Linked DNA regions of Homo sapiens: region 1 is linked to region 2. Evidence: promoter capture Hi-C in 16 types of primary human blood cells and fetal thymus (Javierre and others, 2016). All regions are on one chromosome and are shown on one strand. The core of a region is centred on a gene start or on the middle of the fragment in contact, and the rest is flanking DNA. Distances in the headings are between cores, read along the strand shown. Region 1 overlaps AHCYL2 (adenosylhomocysteinase like 2). Region 2 holds the start of NRF1 (nuclear respiratory factor 1).

Evidence for each region. The method cuts DNA at HindIII sites, captures the fragments that hold promoters and counts their contacts. A CHiCAGO score of 5 or more calls a contact.
Region 1: a contact is called between a fragment that was not itself captured here and the fragment with the promoter of NRF1 in region 2, in 3 of 17 cell types (endothelial precursors, megakaryocytes and erythroblasts). The highest score is 6.5, in endothelial precursors.

Annotation. Positions count from the first base shown.
Region 1 is chr7:129,366,950-129,372,737 of GRCh38, reverse strand. All of the region lies in intron 1 of AHCYL2 (adenosylhomocysteinase like 2), which reads right to left. LOC107986847 (a long non-coding RNA gene) reads left to right here. Exons shown (of 3, transcript XR_007060518.1): 2 at 1-1,345; 3 at 3,844-4,714. Among named protein-coding and RNA genes, the nearest start is that of STRIP2, 65 kb to the left of the region's middle. The HindIII fragment of the contact is 283 bases long and covers 2,554-2,836 here.
Region 2 is chr7:129,609,887-129,615,530 of GRCh38, reverse strand. NRF1 (nuclear respiratory factor 1) reads right to left here and starts at 3,811. Exons shown (of 11, transcript NM_005011.5): 1 at 3,707-3,811. RefSeq lists enhancers at 2,524-2,663, 4,344-4,393 and a silencer at 2,964-3,953. The HindIII fragment of the contact is 1,773 bases long and covers 3,139-4,911 here.

The DNA.
Region 1 (5,788 bases), core at 1,446-3,945, 240 kb after region 2:
AGTTCAAGTGATTCTCTTGCCTCAGCCTCCTGAGTAGCTGCGATTACAGGAGCACACCAACCATGCCTGGCTTATTTTTTTTTGTACTTTTTAGTAGAGATGGGGTTTCGCCATGTTGGGCAGGCTGGTCTCGAACTCCTGACCTCAGGTGATCCATCCACCTTGGCCTCCCAAAGTGCTGGGATTACAGGCATGAGGCACCACGCCCAGCTGAGGTGATCTTTCTTTACACCCAAAACAGGGTCTAAAGAAAACTGGGTCTAATTCTGCTTTCCGTAACTTAAGGCTCTTAAGAAGAGACAGGTAATATATTAAGAAAAACAGGACTCATGGGGAGGACAGAAGATCTATTTATCCTAAAGAGGATCAAGGCCAAGAGAAACCAATTAATTCCTTTTCAAGTACATAAAGTAATACTACAAAGGATGTATCTGTGTCTCTACTTCCTAAGGTCTGTCATCATTTCTAAAATAGGGATAATCATATCTACTTTGCCTATTTAAAATGTATGCTGAGATAATAAGATGTGAGAGGGTTTTGAAAACTACATATTGATATGCAAGTCTAAAATATTAATATTTCTATTCTTTCAAATTAAGTGTTCTTAACCTATATTCCATGGATGTCTAGAACCCCCTACAACAGTATGCAAAATTTTGTGTTTTTAATATCCTGGGGAGAGAGCCCATAGTTTTCATCAGTTTTTCAAATGGCTTTCTGTTTTAAGCACCAATCCTGACCTAGAGTGATAGTCAAGCTACCTCTACCACCATTTATCAGACACTTTGGAGATTTTTGTCTCTACTTCCAAGTAGATATGGTTCAGATATTCCTCAAAACACCTCTCTCTTCCAAGCCAAATGAGCGGCTTGAACTAACTCTTTACCTATGAAAAGGATTACTTCTTGCCAAAAGAATATCGGGCATCAAGCTGGCTGGATACTCATGAAAGTCAATCAACCAGATTTCCTATGGAAAAGTACAGAGAGCTGGAGTGGGAGGAGGAGGAAATATTAAAATGTTGAAACACAGAAAAAGTTATTGCTGATCTCCATGCATGTCAGTCGAGGTTACTACCAGAAGGGACTAAAGATCTCTCAGGGGAAGTAAAACACATTAATAAAGACAGTCTTTAAAAGGAAGTGTTCCCCAACCTTTCAGCAGTAAAGCTGTCTGAACAGGGCTAAGAAAATCCTTCACATGAAAACAGCTGAGGAGCAGAGGCTCCAGGAGAAGTTTTCCAGTGATTGATGGAACGTAACCTTGAAAGTCTACCTCGTCAGTTCTTGAGATTGGGGTTCTTCAGGCTTCATCCCGGCTTATTTCCCTGCTGGAAATCAGAGATGTGAGTACTGTCAGCTGTTATATGTGGTGTGAGTCCTATTCTCTGAGGGATATGAAGTCCCTTTTTGCTGGTGATTTTTAACAAAAGGGAGATGTTGTAATATACCTTCTCTGCTAAATTTTTCTCCTGAAAGAAGATTTGAGAGACTTCTCATATTTCCTTTGGTGGCAGGGATAGTTTCAGTGGAAATTTCATTACACTAATATGTAAATGGGAACATGAGTAAGACACTCGTTAAAACTTTAAATTGAAACTTTGGCCCAACATGGGAGCTGGAGCAACGGTTTTTTTCTTGGGGATTAAAAGACACTTTAACATTTTACAAGTAAGGTCTGGAAATCCATCGGCAATACACTAGAGGGTGCTCAGAGGTTAGCTTTCTTGGCTAAGTGGCTATCAGTAGCAACCTAATGAAGTACTTTCAGACCAAGTCAGGAGTCAATGACTTACGTGGTATCTGAAAGAAAGCCTCAAAAGTCTTTGGCAAAGAAAAGCTAGCAAATGAGACAATCGTGTTATTGAAGACTAGCTCCTCCCTATTCCTTTTTATTGCTGTTCAAAATACTGAGCAAAGGTATTTTCCTGCTATTTAAGAGAGAATGGCTGAGAAATTCCTAAGTGAGAGTAATACCTTATTAAAAACAGAACAGAGCAGAGCTGTGCTTTTCTAAATTATTATTTTGTTTGTTTGTTTTGAGACGGAGTCTCACCCTGTCGCCCAGGCTGGAGTGCAGTGGCGCGATCTCAGCTCACTGTAAGCTCTGCCTCCCGGGTTCATGCTATTCTCCTGCCTCAGCCTCCAGAGTAGCTGGGACTATAGGCGCCCGCCACCACGCCCGGCTAATTTTTTGTATTTTTAGTAGAGACCGGGTTTCACTGTGTTAGCCAGGATGATCTTGATCTCCTGACCTCGTGATCTGCCCGCCCTGGCCTCCCCCAAAGTGCTGGGATTACAGGCGTGAGCCACCGCACCCGGCTGCAAATTTTTTTATTTATTTTTTACCAACCAAGACACAACACTAAAGAGCTGTGTTTTATTAAATAAAGAGTGTTTTCTAAAAGCTGGGAAGCCCTAGATCATATCCCTTATGCAGTGGTCACACCAACTCCTTTAGGGCAGTCTTCCCATTCACATTAACTAGAAAGAAGGTAAATGGGTGAAAGTTCAGCAGGAGCCACTACTGAACTTTGAGGGGATGTGCTAAGCTTGTAAGACGGTGAGGACTATGACAGAAATAAGAATTATTATAAAACTTTGATTGATTCTGAGTTGGCACACTAATGTTCAGTAGAATTCTTCTGTAATATTCCTTTATAGAAATACCAAAGTTTGATACCTTAACGTGGCCCTTCCCTTAAGAAAACCAAATTTCTTTTTCCCTCTTCTTGTTATTAGTGAGTAGCAAGAAATTCAAAAAAACTCAACCCAATCAGAAGTATTACATAAATCCTTCCATTAATTCTAAAACACTATGTTACTTGGAATAAGCTTGTAGATGGATAGGTTTTCTTTCCACAAAATGTTTTAAAATTGAACACAAGACTGAGCGTGGTGGCTCACACCTGTAATCCCAGCACTGTGGGAGGCCGAGTTGGGTGGATCACCTACGGTCAGGAGTTCAAGACCAGCCTGGCCAACATGGTGAAACCCCATCTCCACCAAAAATACAAAAATTACCCGGTATGGTGGTGCACACCTGTAATCCCAGCTACTTGGGAGGCTGAGACAGGAGAATCACTTGAACCCAGGAAGCGGAGGTTGCAGTGAGCTGAGATCACGCCACTGCACTCCAGCCTGGACAACAGAGCCAGACTCCATTTCAAAAAAAAAAAAAAAAAAAACCTGAACACAATGTTCTGAAACGACATTAAGAAGAACAGCAATAACCTCCCCCAAAACAATAAAAAATAGTTGTAACAATGAGTTGAAATGTAAGTTCCTCAGGGGGCCTTTGTTAGGCCTACTATATATTCTATCTCATTATCAATAGTTATTTCTTCAAATCCATAATTCTATAAACACTAAAAAGAACTTGAAATATGTTTTAGAGAGTCTAACTAGTTTTCCATAGTGGGGAAACACAAATCTGTAAACATAAACCTGTGTGGGCTGTAAGAAATCAGGCTAAATCTAGAAGAAACTATTTAGAAACATAAGGATGGTTATTGTCTTTAAAAGTTGAAATTCGATCCAATATAATAGGTTTATATGCTAGTTCTTATCAACAAATAAGTCCTTATTATCATTTTAGTAAAACTACTGATCAGGCAAACATGGTATTCTGAAGAACTGTACCAAGAGAGCTGCAGTTCCTGCCATAGAGAAATATATATATAAAGGATAGCTGGGGGGGAAATAGGGAAATGTTGTGACTGAAGGGAAAAATACGGGCAGGGAGGGGAGAAATGTTTGCAATCTTTGCAGACTTCAGAGAGCACCATTTCTGTAAGTTCTGTTTTTGTTTTTTCTCCTCATTGTTCTTTTTCTTTACCCCCAGAGAAACAAATGAAGCATCAGGTTGAAAACAGAAGTGCAAAACAGTCACAGGAAACACAACCCATACATCACACCAGCAGCCGGAGGAAAGCCCCTGCCCACCAGAGATGACCAGGCAACAAGCCCTGGCCAGGCAACTCTCACACCTTTCCCAGCTTCGTGGATAATTAAGAAACAGTGGTGACCTAGTACCTAGGAACTAATCAGAACGTAGAGTAATAACTGTTTTTCCAACCACGGATCTTGGTAGGAGCTTCTCAGAGGTGATCCTTGTCACCCGTCAGAAATGGTTGCCTCTCATTATCAAGAAACAGAAGGAGAAACAAAACGACCAGTGAACTCACCATCCACTCAGGCATGTGAAAAGCTGAGGTGCCCTCATTACCGTCCCACTTCTCCATAGTGCAGGCTTGGGTAAGATATGTCCTGAAGCAAAAGGGAAAGCTGGTTTGGAAATACTGGGGTTATCTGAGTGCCCCAAAGCAGACCCAACCCTAGTGAGATTCAGAAGTTCACAGTGGCTAGCAGAAGCTGCATCCCTTTTCACAGCAGCCTCCGATTCAAATCAAGAGCATTAGTCAACTGCCTGACAACCCCTTACTGGCCGGCTTCAAAGCCTTCTGTGTCTGATTTCAAAATCAGAGCTGATGCAAAGTGCTGCACCCAGGCACTGTGCTTCTCACAGGGCACTCACTGTTTTAATGCTACCCAAACACTCTACCCGCACCTCCCCAGTGGGGACTTTCTGCAGCAATAGTTGGACTTCCTTCTTTCCCTGTGTGTGAGGCACTTGTGAATTCTCTCCCACCCTTCAGGACACGTCACTGGAGGTGCGGATACCAAGATCAATAAAGACTGAGGTCAGGAAGGCACTCCCATTTCTCAAGAGTTGCTTGATTTGGATCAGTAAACAGGCGTTTCCTTGAAATCAAGAGCTCCTAGGGCTTTCAAGTTTAAACAGCTATGCAGAAGCTCCCCATCTGCTCACACCAGGGGTCTGGCACCAAACTCTCGCATATCTCAAGTTAGAGTCTTATTGCATGGGAGGTTCGGATGGAGCCTAGGAAGATCTTTTTCAAAATCAGAATTTCTTAGCAGCTCTAAGAAAGTTCTGGGACGACAGCTCCCTCTGCTGGCTCCCTGTGCTACATACACGAAGGCCTCAGGGCCCGCAGCTACAGACACACAGGTGCTGATTGCAAAGTGACTTCACTGAGGCTAGTCAGAAGCCACCACAGTGTAGGTTTAGAGGACAGCCAGGGTTTCCAACCAAGACTAGTGCTGCCTCAAAGTCCCTAACCAATGCTGGATTTTACACACAGATCTGGTTTCAGGAAGAAACAGGATGCCAGTGCAGTAGCCCTGTACACTATCACCTTAAAGGACCTCCGAAGTTGTTTCTGCTTTATCTCTCCATACCAACTCCCTCCTTGCTGCACACTTCAGAATTTTGGAAATAAGACATAACTAGAAAAAAGGTAAGCTAGCCTATCTCACCTGCTTAGTTCATTCCTAGAGTATATTATCCAATAAGAGTACCACAGGTTTCAGGCACAAAGGAAGCCTAACAAGATATGCCTGCTTTGGTCCCTTTAAGGACCAGGACTCTTTACAGTGTTAATTCCCATTGAAGAGGATAGTTTCTCTACAGCTAACAGTGACAATATTATAATTATGATTATAGGCTCTGTGAAAGGAAAACATCTTGGGCCCCCAAAATCACTAAGCCAAAGGGAAAAGTCAAGCTGGAACTGCTTAGGGCAAACCTGCCTCCGATTCTATTCAAAATCACCCCTCTGCTCACTGAGATAAATGCACATCTGATTGCCTACTTTGAAGAGGCCAATCAAAAACTCAAAAGAATGCAACCATTTGTCTCTTATCTACCCATGACCTGGAAGCCCCCTCCCTGCTTCCAGATGTCTCGCCTTTCCAAACTGAACCAG
Region 2 (5,644 bases), core at 2,562-5,061:
TTTTAGTATAGAACATTTCCTGAAATGTTTTTTACAAAATCAAAGATTTGCATTTTAAGATTGATTTTCCAAATACTCTATATATACATATTAATAAGCATCACACAGTCACACACAAACATCTAAATTCAGATATCCCATTTCCTAGATGATTACTGGCCCAGAAAGGGCGCATCTAAACTCTTGAGGTTAAAGTAGACATTTGTGAAATTCAACAGCCCAGGGAGTTTCCCCTCACCCTTCAATTTTTCACAGTGGCACTGTGTGAATGAATAAGCCTGCTTCAGCATGAAGCAACAGGCTTGTCTAAAGACATCTGACAGAAGCTGAATGTATACATTAACTTCCTGTTGAGGTAGGACTGTAGACTGTTTCTAAAGACTGACAGTTCATAGTTCCTCCAGAAACCAAAAAATCAGCATGCCTTTTCAAATACTCAGGGAAAAATTTTAATTTCAGTAATTACTGTTCATTGTTATTATTCTTCAACTTTACTGAATGCCTTATTCCATACAAGAAAAGGCATAAAAATTTAATCCCAGACCACAGGAGCTTAAATTTCCCTTAAAACAAGTCACTCATTCGTGATTATTTACATAAAATGCTTCTAAAGACAACCCAGAGATTTGGTTGAACCTACAGTGTGCAGGCAATGCAAATTCAGGTATTTAAATCATGGGAAGTTGGCCTTCGGTTCCCTAACAAAATTAGACAAGTGCATAATTATCGTTTAATAAAACAAAAAACCTACAATTTGGGGTCCTAACGACATACACAGGAATTCAGAAGGAAACCTGAAATCCTTTCTCCTTTAAACCTTCTATATCTGGACAAGGGCCCTCATTATCTTCTACTTCTATAGCTCCTTCTCTTAACACAGGAGCTAAATTTCCTTGAAACATGTTATGAAGCCACTGCCAGCACGGTGGCACTTGCCTATAGTCTCAGCTACTGGGGAGGCTGAGGTGGGTGCATTCCTTGAGCCCAGGAGTTCAAGGCCAGCTTAGGCAACATAGCAAGATCCCCATCTCTAACTTAAAAAAAAAAATTATATATATGTATGTACACACACACACACACACACACAAATACATATTTTTATAAGAAAATTATTGGGCCAGGCGCATTGGCTCATGCCTGTAATCCCAGCACTTTCGGAGGCCAAGCCCAGCAGATCACCTTAGGTCAGAAGTTCGAGACCAGCCTGGCCAACACGCCAAAACCCCGTCTCTACTAAAAATACAAAAATTAGCCGGGCATGGTGGCCCACGCCTGTAATCCCAGCTACTCGGGAGGCTGAGGCCGAAGAATCGCTTGAACCCAGGAGGCAGATGTTGCAGTGAGCCGAGATCGCACCACTGCACTCCAGCCTGGGTGACAGAGTGAGACTCCGTCTAAGAAAAGAAAAAGAAAAAGAGAACTATTTCCACAAAAATTGCCGACTTGGGGATAAGAACTTTTCTTTGTTACAGGAGACTATGACCACTGACTACTAAGCAAAAAGTCATTTTCCCTCCTATATGTCGAGTTTGAGGCTGTGTGAGGAAATTAAAGGACTTCAAATAAGGATGGGCCAAAAGATTAAGTAGAGTTTTTGTTTTTGTTTTTTTAGATGAAGTCTCGCTCTTGTCCCCCGGGCTGGAGTGCAATGGCGCGATCTCCATCTCGGCTCACTGCAACTTCTGCCTCCCAGGTTCAAGCGATTCTCTTGCCTCGGCAGCCCCCGCCCCCGCCCCTCCCAGCAGCTGGGATTACTGGCGCCTGCCACCACGCCCAGCTAATTTTTGTATTTTTAACAGAGATGGGCTTTCACCATGTTGGCCAGGCTGGTCTCGAACTCCTGACCTCAGGTGATCCACCCCGCCTCGGCCTCCCAAAGTGCTGGGATTACAGGTGTGAGCCACCGCACCCGGCCGTAAAGAGTTTTCTTAATCTGATTATTGTTTTTTTTGGTCATGGGCCCTGTTGAAAGCCACTAAGTCCTATCAAAAGAAAAAAAAACCCCTTGACACAAAAAAATTCTGCCCACAATTTAGGATCCAAGTTAAGAATAAATATTCTACATTGCATGTGATAATTATGTCTGCTTTCGGACTCATAAAATAAGGAAATTACACTCAGATGCACGGAGAGAACTAGTCATATTTTCACTGTCTTACGGGGTAACCTGTCAAGAACTGTCAAATACAATTTTAGGGAGTCGGGATACTAATGAATCAAACACACACACACACACAAACAGCATCTCCAAGACTCCAGCACCCCCCTTTCCCAATTACTTACTGGTCAAGCCCAAAGGAAAAATAATTTTTTAAAAGGCTAGGCTGAGATGGAATGGGAAAAAGGATCACTGTGAGCACAGATGATGTCCCGGGACAAAAGCTCTGCCCAACACTGCCCAAGCTGACAGGCTCACTCACACTACCTTTCTCCTTATGCGTCTCTCAATACGCAGTCTCTGAACACTTAAAAAAATGTGAATTTTGCTCTGACCACATAAAGAAATCAGCACGATTGACACCAGCTCTAAAATAAGCAATTAATATATTCTAATCTAATGCTTAAGAAGAATGGAGAGCAGGCAACAGCTCCTCCAACTGGTTGGAGCAGATATCACTGGAAGCCCCCCAAGTATTAAGATTTTTAAACAACTTCAAGTTCTGGTGGGCACAGCCAAATACACTGCAGAAACTTTGGGACCAGCAGCCACGACACAACAGGTGAGAGAGGCAGCAGACATCATTGCACGATGGAGTGCACAACATTCAATGACAAACCCGAAAAGGTCTGGGGATATGGGAAAATACCATGCACACGGCCATCTCAGAGCCCCTGTCTTTCCAGTGGCAAAAGGTTCTGTTCCTTCGGAGGGGCGTGCCACTCCCCCTCTCCCTCACCCAGGGGACCACCACCCCAGGCACAGGAAGAACCGCGGCCCCTCCGCGGGCACATCTCAGCTGGGGAAGAAAACACAATGTCGCTCCTTATTTCTGCGTACAAAAGGACTTTGCGCCCTCCTCCTCGAACTGCCGCCCCGGCCACCTCCTAACTTGCAAGAAGGTGGGCAACGCGCCATATTCCAGCGTCCCCCAGTCTACCTGGGTAACAAGCCCACGCCACCCCGGCAGGAGGGAAGCTTCGGAGGTCGCCCAAAGAGCCAGCCTCCTCTCCCGCAGGAGACAGCGGCTCCCGCGCCCCAGCCCGGCCCCACCGCGCCGCCCGCCCGCCCGCCCGCGTACGAGAGCCGGGAAGGGCCGAGGGGGCGAGCCGAGAGCCGCGGCTCCGGTCCCGCGCAGCCCGCCCACCTCCCGCTCCCGGGCCCGGCGCACTCTCCCGCGCCTCCCGCTCCCGAGCTGCGGGAAGGCCGGGCCCCGGGTTCCACGGCGGGGAGAAGGCCGCGGCCCCGAGAGCCCCAGGCGGCGGAGGAGGCCGGAACCCTGGGGCTCTCGGGAGGGCAGCGCCTCCCTCCCGAGCCCGCCAGGACGCCTGGGGCCTAGTGCGGCCTGCGCATCCTCGGGGTGGCGGTTTGGCTGGGCCGGGCCGGGGCCCCCCGCCCGAGGCGGGCCGAATCCGGCGGGGGCCCAGGCCCAGAGCCGGGGGCGGCAGGGTGCCGGCTGCGGGGCGGGCCGGCCGGCCGGCGGGCGGGCGGCGTGTTGCGGCTGCGCCGGGGCTGAAATAGCTGGAGATTGCGCGGTAGGGCACTCACCTCAGAGCGGCTGCGCTACCGTGGGCCTGCGCCGTGGAGACTGCGACCGCGCCGGCTCCTCGCAGCCTCCTGCCACCAGCGGCAATGGCGAGCGCTGCCGCTTCTGCCGCCGCCGCCGCCGCCGAGGAGGGGGAGGGGAGGGAGAGGGCACGCACGCGACGCACGGCCCGGCTTCCCCGCCCGGCCGCCGCCATGATGAGGAGGTCGGCGCGGCTGTGCTGCGGGCAGGCAGCGGAGAGGGCTCGCGGCGAGGGCTCCAGCTTACCCCGCCGCCGCGTCGCGTGCACGGAGCGCTTCAGAGGTTTGGAGGGGGCCGGAACCTCAAAAGCAACTGGATGAGCACAACGCGGACGCCCCGGAGAAGCGGCGCAAGCGGGCCCAAAATGGTTGCTGATCAGACGAGTGGCATCTCTCGCCCCCCTACCGCGGGAATTGGGACCTCCAGACTGTGCCTGGGGGATCGGCAAGTGGTTCCCCTCTGGTTTTTTCGGCGCTGCCTTCCCGGTGGTATCCTCACTCTCTCTCTTTGAAATGACCTCTGCTTTCCTATCTCTAACTCTTCCCAGATATTTGAAAGCAAGTTTTTGTACAAAGCAACATATGAATGTATTCAGCCATTCGATCGTTCGGCGAACATTTCTAGGTGTCTCGTGCTGTGCCAGATATTGTTCTGAGTGCGCTGAAGATGCACCTGTTAGCAAGACAAAGTCCTGGCTCCCACGGAGCTTATTCGAAGCAATAGGGGCCCCCAAGCAGGTGCCTGAGAAGTAGGGAGGGGTGGACAGTGGGAAAACAACCTAACGGTGGAGACACACGAGGGGTCTTTTTTTACTTTTAGAAACGGGGGTGGGTGGTCACCCTATGTTGCCTAGGCTGGTCTCGAACTCCTGGGCCCAAGCGATCCTCCCGACTCAGCCTCCCAAAGTGCTGGTATTACAGGACACCATGCCCGGCAGAGGGGTCGTTTTTGTTGTTTTTTTAGTGTCGTCAGGAGACTCCCTCCATCAGAATTACTCAGGCTGATTGTTTTGAGTCCTGGGACCCAGTTGGTATCCAGAATCTTGGCTTGTTTGCCTAGGAACCTGCATTTTCACATCCCCATCTCCACACCCCTGGTGATTCTTATGCATATAATAATGTGAAAAGCATTGCATTGAAGAATTGCTAAAGGGTGTCAGAAAACGGATTAACAAAATCAGGAAGCTTTAATTTTCAAGATTCTATTAACCTCAAAATTCAACATATCCAAAAATTGAATGTCTTTTTCTCCAGTGTTTTCTAGGAGAGTGCCAACACTAGCCACCCAAGTGCTCAAGCCAGAAACCTGGAAATGATCCATTACTCTTTCCTCTGTCTCTGGAGTCCCCATGTTAAATTAGATGTGTTTGTTTGTGAGACAGATTCTCACTCTATTACCTAGGCTGGAGGGCAGTGGTGCAATCATTGTTCACTGCAGCCTCGACCTCTCTGGGCTCAAGGATCCTCCCACCTCAGCCTCCCCAGTAGCTGGGACTACAGGTCCCCACCACCACGCCCGGCTAATTTTTGTATTTTTAGTAGAGATGAGGTTTCATCTTGTTGGCCCGGGCTGGTCTCGAACTCCTAGGCTCAAGTGATCTGCCTGCCTTAACCTCCCAAAGTGCTGGGATTACAGCCGTGAGCCACTGCACCCAGCCCCAATTAGATTTTTAAAACTGTTGTTCCCTGTCAGTTCTTACTCTGGTTCAGGCTACTGTCATCTCTCCTAGAGACACTGCGGTAGACTCCTCTTGGTCTCCCTGCCACCGAAATTGCCCTCTCCAAATCCACTACAGCTTGAATGGTCTTTCAAGAAAGAAAATCATGTTTTTTCCCTGTTTAAGACTCTTAAAAAGATCTGATTAACACGTAGGATAAAGTCTAAAATTCTTTGAGGTGGCTACAGGGCCATTGGTGATC